2 separate regions of the Homo sapiens genome follow, and region 2 is linked to region 1. Evidence: promoter capture Hi-C in 16 types of primary human blood cells and fetal thymus (Javierre and others, 2016). All regions are on one chromosome and are shown on one strand. Each heading gives the region's core, a stretch centred on a gene start or on the middle of the fragment in contact. The rest is flanking DNA. Distances are from core to core; before and after follow the strand shown.

The links. Contacts are between HindIII fragments. The CHiCAGO score rates a contact against its expected background, and 5 or more counts as called.
Region 2: a contact is called between a fragment that was not itself captured here and the fragment with the promoter of ESRP2 in region 1, in 1 of 17 cell types (fetal thymus). The highest score is 6.4, in fetal thymus.

Annotation. Positions count from the first base shown.
Region 1 is chr16:68,233,907-68,239,763 of GRCh38, forward strand. ESRP2 (epithelial splicing regulatory protein 2) reads right to left here and starts at 2,221. Exons shown (of 15, transcript NM_024939.3): 1 at 1,942-2,221; 2 at 1,728-1,856; 3 at 88-201. The coding sequence starts at 2,139. RefSeq lists silencers at 2,169-2,398, 3,709-3,798, 3,829-3,928 and enhancers at 2,420-3,008, 3,009-3,596, 3,597-4,185, 4,186-4,772. The HindIII fragment of the contact is 18,011 bases long and covers 1-5,857 here.
Region 2 is chr16:67,940,196-67,942,695 of GRCh38, forward strand. It overlaps LCAT (lecithin-cholesterol acyltransferase), which reads right to left. Exons shown (of 6, transcript NM_000229.2): 4 at 2,476-2,500; 5 at 2,168-2,392; 6 at 1-283. Among named protein-coding and RNA genes, the nearest start is that of LCAT, 2.7 kb to the right of the region's middle. RefSeq lists enhancers at 1-198, 1-36, 2,124-2,173, 2,157-2,500. The HindIII fragment of the contact is 4,708 bases long and covers 1-2,500 here.

The DNA.
Region 1 (5,857 bases), core at 971-3,470:
GAGCGCCCTGCCCACCCTCAGGACAAGAGGGGTTCTGGGAACCTTACTGACCACCCCACCCCACCCGGTTTTCCTTCAGGAGCATACCTTCCTGGAGGCCTCGGGGTGCAGGACCTGTCGCAATAGCTGCTGCCCATCAGTGCAGAGCATGTAGGGGCCCCCGCCCAGCAAAGCCACATCCCCGTTCACCAGCTGTGAGAACTGGGGATAGGGAATGGGGAGAGAGAAACACACAGATTCACAGCTGGGCAGGCAGGAAGTGAGGGTAGGAGGAAGGAGGCAGGCTGCAAAGCTGGTTCAGCCAGATGTTCAGCCCTATCCTGCCTGGGAATAAGAGGCCACGCCTGTTGAGCCTAGCCCTATGTCCCTTCCCCTCACCCCCCAACCCTGTTCCAGTCCACTGTCACCTCCTCCAGGCCAAATGAGGGCAATCACATATAACCGAAGCCCTCAACACACACACTCCAGGAGTTTGGAGTGGGGCCAGAGCAAACACCTGGAGTGGGACAAGCAGGTGGGAAGGGGCGGGGCAAAGCAGGTTAAACCTGTCTTTGACCGGGTACCACCCTCAGACAGGTGGGGGAGGCCCAGGCCTGCCTGAGGCCCAGAAGGCTCATGGTCAATGGCAGCCCCGCCTCCAGGTCTGACCAACCGAGGGGCAGAGAAACTCCAAGGACAGAGCTCCACACTTGGACATCAGGGGCAGCATGAGCTTTGACCCACATCCTATTGACCGGCTGGCACTGAGCTGTTTGCTCATAGAGGGGGTGGCACTCCTGAGGCTGCCCAGCCCTCCCCCAGCCTCCATCCTTGCTGGAGAAGTATAAACACTAATCAGTGACCCACGAACCCTCCCTGCCAATTCTGTGACACTTTACAACTTGGGGCTGACAGAGCAAGGCAACCCAGCTCTCCTCCAGCAAACTCCCCAAGTGAAGGGCCGGGAGCCCTTCTGGAACAGACAAGGAATCATCATCGTGGTGCCTCCTCATCAGGAACCACAAGAGTTGTTGGAAGATGAAAGAACGTGAGTGTATAAAAAGGACTTACACTAATTACACTCAAGAGTCAGACATAGAATGAGCGCCGTAGTGAAGATAAGGAAAAGAAAACAGCAATGGAAACCACCTCCCACTTCAGCTAGGGCAGGAGGCACCCCAGGCCTTTGCACTCAGCAGGCAGATAGTCCCCCAGGCCAGGCCGGGACAGCGCCCACGCCTGGCCAGCCGGCCGGGACAGGCCTAGACGAGCAGTTTACACCTGGCGGCGTCTACCTCTAGGGCCGACACCGCCCTACGCCTCCGCTCCAGCAGCTCCCAAGCAGGCCGAAGACGCGGGCCGCAAGGACAGGTGACCTATATGGGCCCCTCGACCCCTTTCGCTTCCGGCTGCGGCTCAGGGAGACCTGACCCAGCAGGTCTCCCAAAGGCGTCTCGGCCTCGCTCCCCGGGCGGGAACTGGGGATGGATCCCAAAGCCTGCGTCCCGATCCCTTCGGTAGGAGTAGGTTCCTGCAATGGTTGAAAAGTAAGGAGCCCAGGGGAATGGCTGGCACGCGCGGATGAAAGGGGCACGCACACGCGAGAGTCGCTCAAAGTTTCAAACAAGAGCCCAGTCCTGCCGCCTGGACCGGTTGGTTGCGGCACGCCAGGCCTAGCCTCCGGCCGCCAATCCCGCCCAGAAATGTCCTCACGTCCAGGCCATGCCGCCACCCACCCCGGCGCTCACCTGCTGCAGCACCTTGTCCAGCGGCTCTGCCCGCGCCAGGCTGTCGGCGCTCAGGCCGCTCGCCTCGCGGCACTGCGTACTCAGTGCGGCCGCCTCGGCACGAACCAGCGATTTGTGCAGCGTCCCCACCTGTGAGCGGCGGGGGAAACCGATCAGCCGCGCCCCTCGACCCCGGAAGCTCCCTGGGGACCTCACCGCCTCTTTTCCACCCTACCTGGCGGCTCCGCGGCTCAACCACTTGCCAAACTAGGAGGATTAAGTCGGTCTCGTCCGAGCCCAGGTCCCGTCCCAGCGCACCCGCCGTAGCCCCGAAGAGGACGACCAGTGATCCGGGCCAGGGGCAGGGGTCCGCGGCGGGGTCGGCCGCGGGGTCAGGGCCCGGGGGAGGGGGCGGCGGCGGCGGCGGAGTCATGGCCGCAGAGGAAGGGGGCTCTCGGCCAGACACGCGGACCGACGAGGCGCACGCACGCACCGACCGACCGCAGACGCGGATCAGCTTGGGCGGGACACCGTGTATCGGGGGCGGCACCTGCGGCCCGGCTGGCTCAGTGGGCGCTGCCAAGACCCGCCCGTGGCGCCCCGCGGGGCGGGGCGGCTACCGGCCCACGCCCTCTCCAGGCGAGTTACCTGCCGGCCCCGCCGGCCACGTGACCGGGGCGGCTCCGGGAACCTTGGGGGAGGGCCGCCAGAACTCAACCCAGGACGCAAGAGCTCACGCTCCCGGCCTGGGCGCACGCTTAGGATCCGGATTCCTACTTCCAGGGCTGGTCCTGCCTGATTTTGGGGGCTAACCCATTCTTCCGCTCTCCCCCCACTCTTCCCCAGGGGTCGTCAGGCCTCTGCAAAGGAGCGTGCAAGACAGAGGCCTTCTCCAGTATGGAAGTCACCAGGAGGCAGTCTAGGGGCTGTGGGGGTCAACACGGCAGGTCTGGGGTTGATGGAAGTCAAAGGGTCAAGGGGGCGGTGAGAGTTGCCGGGTATCACCCTGTAGGGGGATCACCAGAAGTCACCTGGGAAAGGGGAGGGCGGCGGGAACATCAGCGTTGTTAGAGCTGTGGGGTGGTCACCAGGGATCACAGGGAAGGGCTTGTCCACGCAGATGCTAGGGCCGAGCGCTAGCCTGGCACTGAGAAGTGCCAGAGCGCGGTCGTTGTGGGTTGGGAGTGGGCAGGCCTCAATGCTGGGGAAAGGAACCCCCCAAATCGCAGAGAGCTGCACCCTAGACGAGGCTGAGAGGGGTAGAACGGGCCTGGAGCCTCACTCCTACCCCACGTGTGGGGGCCTGCCTGCTTTCGTCCCTTTCTGGACGGTGGAGAAGCTGCCTGGAGATTGCGAGCGCTCTGGCCGATGGGGGGCTAGCGTTGAGCGTGTGTGCGCGCATGCGGGCTGCAGATCCTCCCTTTTCCATCCCGCACCTACAACCCAATTGACAGCCCCGCATTTGGGGCTCCCATTCCTCCCTTTGCCCAGTGGAGCTTGGTGAGGCTCCTTTATGGCGCGTTTCCCGGCCGTTCCTTACTTTCCCAAACTCTCCCAGGGAGGTGACTGAGAAACTGAATAAGTGACTGAGAAACTGAATAATCCAGCAGGAAGGAGGGGGCTCCAGCGTGGCGGGAACTGAGTCACGCGGTTGCCTAGCCCGACTCGAGACTGAGACGGGAGCCGCACCACGCGCTTTCGGACAAGGAGGGTGCTGCGGCCCGGCCCCTGGACAATGGAGAGAGCGGGGCACCCGGGCGCATCACCAGAGCTCATGCCCGGGAAAGGGGCGAGGCCCGGGGGGAGAGAGCTCAGCGTAGCTCCACTTGGCAGCTAAAGAAACAGGCGCCCGGGACGGAAATGACTCGCGCCCGGACACGGCGACAGGGAGAGCATGGGAAGTGCTTCCTTCGCCCGGCGGGTTCGAGCGAGTAGCACTTTACTTTCCCTACAGGTGGAGGCGGGCCTTGGTGCGCGGCTGTCCATCTCCGGACCGCCCACCCGGGCACTGGCCCATGCGTCTCCTCCCCCGGAAGCGGTAAGCGAATCAGGCGCGGGGGAAGGGAGAACGTTGCTCCTCGGGCCCCTCCTCCCGATAAGCCTGGAATGTCAAATATTTGTTCGCGGGGCGGGGCGCAACCGCGAGTAACGCTCCTCCCCCTCCCGCCCGGTAGGGCGCCTGCGCTTGGTGGAGGCGGCCCTTCCTCCGGCCACGCCCTTCCAGCCAACTCCCCTAAACCAGTGGCCCTAACCGCCGCATTCCTAAAGCTCCACAGAAGCACGTCGCTTCCTCCTTGGCTCCTGTCTGGGTTCCACTCTTACAGCACAGGGTCACAGCGTCCCCGCCCGAAGGTCTGGGCGCTACTCGGTCTCCTTCTCGCCCCTCCTGGCGACCTCATCTGTGCAGCCTCTAGGCCCTTTTTCCTCTTCAGCCTGAGTCTCGACGCCCGCTCTTCCCGGAAGCCACCTTCGCGAGGTGACTGCTCCATTGTGGCGTCTCTGGCAGTCCTGAGCGCTTTCCCACGGAAGACGCGCTTATGCGTGTCCAAGTCGCCGCTGGGTCGTGAACCTGAGGCACGGGCTGGTAGCACAGTGCGGCTCCCCTAAACTACCCCGGATGCCCATCCGGCTGCCCCCATAGCAAGACAACTCCTGCAACTTAGATTCTTTTTATTTTATTTTATTTTTTTAATTTTTATTATTCTTTTCTTTGAGACGGAGTTTTGCTCTTGTTGCCCAGACTGGAGTGCAATGGCGCGATCTCGGCTTACTGCAACCTCCGCCTCCTGGGTTCAAGCGATTCTCCTGCCTCAGCCTCCCAAGTAGCTGGGATTACAGGCGTGCACCACCACGCCTGTATTTTTTTAGTAGAGACGGGGTTTCACCATGTTGATCAGGCTGGATGGTCTCGAACTCCTGACCTCAGGTGATCCACCCGCCTCGGTCTCCCAGTGCTGGGATTACGGGCGTGAGCCACCACGCCTGGCTAATTTTTGTATTTTTTGCAGAGACGGGGTCTCGCCATGTTGACCAGGCTGGTCTCGAACTCCGCCCACCTCGGCCTCCCGAAGGGCTAGAATTATAGGCATGAGCTACCGTGCACTCAGCTCCAACCCTTGCATTCTTCTTTAAAAACCAAATTCGTTTAAATACTGGGCAGGAGGGTGGGGTCCTGTTTTGCTGAGATCCCTTACTCATCTTCAGATGAGTCCTTCCAGATGACCCCATTATTACTAAACAACCCACACTCCTGACCCCAACCGACCCTCATTGCTTCTTTCTGCCCCCCAACCCCCCAACTTAACCAACTTATAACACGATTTATTAATCGTGTATTGTCTCCCCGCTCCATCATCCTATCCTCGAAGATAGAGGCTTACCCCCAACGCCTGTCACTGAATGAATGAACTGTTGTCTAAGGCTAGCTTCTTCTGCCACAGGGTATTTCAGCAATGGTAAGACACAGGCCTTTGCAGTAGGGTCTCATCTGTGCCCTTTCCTCCTCTCCAGCCCTACCCCTTCTCTATCTAGGGCTCCAGCTCTTCCTCCAGAATTTTTTTTTTTTTTTTTTTTTTTTTGAGACAGAGTCTCGCTCTGTCCCCCAGGCTGGAGTGCAATGGCATGATCCCGGCTCACTGCAACCTCCGCCTCCTGGGTTGACGCGATTCCTCTGCCTCTGCCTCTGCCTCAGCCTCCCGAGTAGCTGGGACTACAGGCGCGCGCCACCATGCCGGGTTAATTTTTGTATTTTTAATAAAGATGGGATTTCCCCATATTGAACAGGCTGGTCTCGAACTCCTGACCTCGTGATCCGCCCGCCTCGGCCTCCCAGAGTGTTGGGATTACAGGCATGAGCCACCGCTCCCGGCCTTCCTCCAGATTTTCTACCTTCCGCAGGGGTCCCTTCTGTAGTTTGAGATTTCTGTACTTCTCTAAAAATTGTCCCCCACCCCCACCCCACTCCTCGCTCCCCTGGGGTTCATGAATTAATGAATAGGAGATTGGTACGGCAGAGAGGTAAGCAAGGCCCCGACGGCCCAGGCCGCCTGAGGTCAGCCGCCTTTCTCAAAACCGCGTGCCAGATATTTGGAAGAAAGAACTGGGTTCCGTGGGCCTCATACTCGCGAAATTTTACCCTCACCTTGGCCCTC
Region 2 (2,500 bases), core at 1-2,500, 290 kb before region 1:
GGCAGGCCCACGCCGTAAAGACAGTATACTTCCACACCAGGTGCTGGGAGTCCTGCCAGGAGGTCACGTGACTGCAGCCACATGTACCAGCCTTCCTCAAAGTGCAGGTCTGCAAAGAAGCGTTGGAAGTCACGGCCTGTGTAGTTGAAGCTGGGTGTGGAAATGAACACGTGGTCCTCAGGCCACGCCATGCGAGAGGGAAACATCCAGGGGGAGGTGGTGGTTATGCGCTGCTCCTCTTTCAGCTTGATGCTGGACATGATGGGGATGCCCTGGTTGTCACCTGTGGATATGGAGCAAGGTGGGACAGGGAGCCAGGCCTGGCTACCCCTGGCCCACAACCTGCTGAGTGTAGGCTCAGCCAGATGCTCAATCTTGTCCCTGCCCAATCTAGACACAGACTCTAAGCCACAGGCTTGAGCAGGCCTGATATTCAATGATGCTCAGTGTCAGCTTACTCAATGAGAAGCCCTGATAAGACCTCTGTTGGGTGGAGCTGTAGGGCTTCAAAAGGATGGCAGGGACAGGCACCATGGCTCACCCCTGTAATCCCAACACTTTGGGAGGCTGAGGCAGGAGGATCACTTGAGGCCAGGAGTCCGTGACCAGACTAGGCAATGCAGTGAGACCCTGTCTCTACAAAAAAAAAAAAAAAAAAAATCAGCTGGGCTTAGTGGAGTGCACCTCTAGTCCTAGCTACTCAGGAGGCAAAGGCAGGAAGATTGCTTGAGCCTAGGAATTTGAGGTTACAGTAAACTATGATCGCACCACTGCACTGTAGCCTGGGTGACACAGTGAGATTCCAGCTTAAAAAATAAATAAATAGGGCCGGGTACGGTGGCTCACACCTGTAATCCTAGCACTTTGGGAGGCCGAGGCAGGCAGATGACTTAAGGTCAGGAGTTCGAGACCAGCCTGGCCAACATGGGGAAACCTAATCTCTACTAAAAATATAAAAATTAGCCAGGCGTGGTGGCACATGCCTGTGATCCTAGCTACTAGGGAGGCTGAGGCAGAAGAATCACTTGAACTGGGGAGATGGAGGTTGCAGTGAGTGGAGATTGCACTACTGCACTCCAGCCTGGGAAACAGAGCGAGACTCCATCTCAAAATACATAAATAAACAAATAAACATTTTTTAAAAGGCCCAGCACAGTAGCTCACGCCTGTAATCCCAGCACTTCGGGAGGCTGAGGCAGGAAGATCACTTAAGGTGAAGAGTTTGAGACCAGCCTGGGCAACATAGCAAGACCTCATCTCTACTAAAAAACAAAAATAAATTAGGTGTGGTGTTGTGTGCCTATAGTCTCAGCTAACCAGGAGGCTGAGGCAGGAGGATTGCTTGGGCCAGGGAGATTGAGACTGCGGCTATGATCACGCCACTGCACTCCAGCCTGGGCGACAGAATGACCCTGTCTGAAAAAGAAAAAAAAAAGTAGGCGGGGCTTCCTGAGGACCAGGGTGTGTGGGGATGGTGGGTGAGGCCCAGGATGTGTGGGGATGGTGGGGGCGGTGCTGGCTGTCCTCCCTCGGGCATGTGTCTTTCTGCTCCTTGTGTGGCTTATGCAGCAATGGGGGCCACAGAGTTGTGCTCCAGAAAGGGGGAAACAAGATGGTGTCTGTTTGATGTTTATTGGTGGTGTCTGATGAGCGTTTCTCTTGTCCAGACTGTGTTTCTCTCTCCAGACCAGCTCCCAGGGTACAGGGGGTGGGGAGTAGGTGGTAGCTGTGTCAGTGCTGGGCCCTGGTGCCACTCCCTAGGGAAGAGCAGGTGGGGCCTCGGGGGGTCTGGCCCTAGCTCTGGCAGATCCATCCTCAGTGAAGCACATCCCTGGGCAAAGGCACTCCTGCGAGCAAGTGGAAGGCAGGCAAGGGCTGGGCAGGCAGGCTCTGGGGCTACAAGAACAAACCCTGGGAGCAGATAGCTGGGATTCACTTTCTGTGTTCACTGCCCCTTTGCCATCACTGACACAGACTCTGGAAGGAGCCACCCTAATTGCTCAGGCCAGGGTCACTGCTCTGGGGGCCAGTGACAGCAAGCATGCCAGCCCAGGAGTGGTAGATAGCACCCCTAGAGGCCACTGTGAGCAGGAGCCGCAATGAAGGCAGGCCCAGGATCAGCTTGGTCTCACCCATCGCTGGACCTAAGTGTTCGAGGCCTTCTCACCTGAGGCCAAGACCAGCATGGGCTTGATGGAGCCACCCCAGGGAGCCCCAAGAGAGATGAAGCCATCAATAAAGCGGTCCTTCCAGGCCTGGGGCTGGCGCAGCAGGAAATAGAGCAAGTGTAGACAGCCGAGGCTGTGGCCAATGAGGAAGACAGGCTTCCCATAGGCAGCGTGCATCTCCTCCACCAGCCCTGCGAGCTTGCGGTAGTACTCCTCCTGCTGGCCTGCAGCGGGTGGAAGGGGTCAGGGCAGCTGGGGTCTGGGGCACCTGCCCCACCCCAAGCCGGTCATCCGCAGAGACACTCACCGGGCTCCAGCCGCCAGTCATAGGG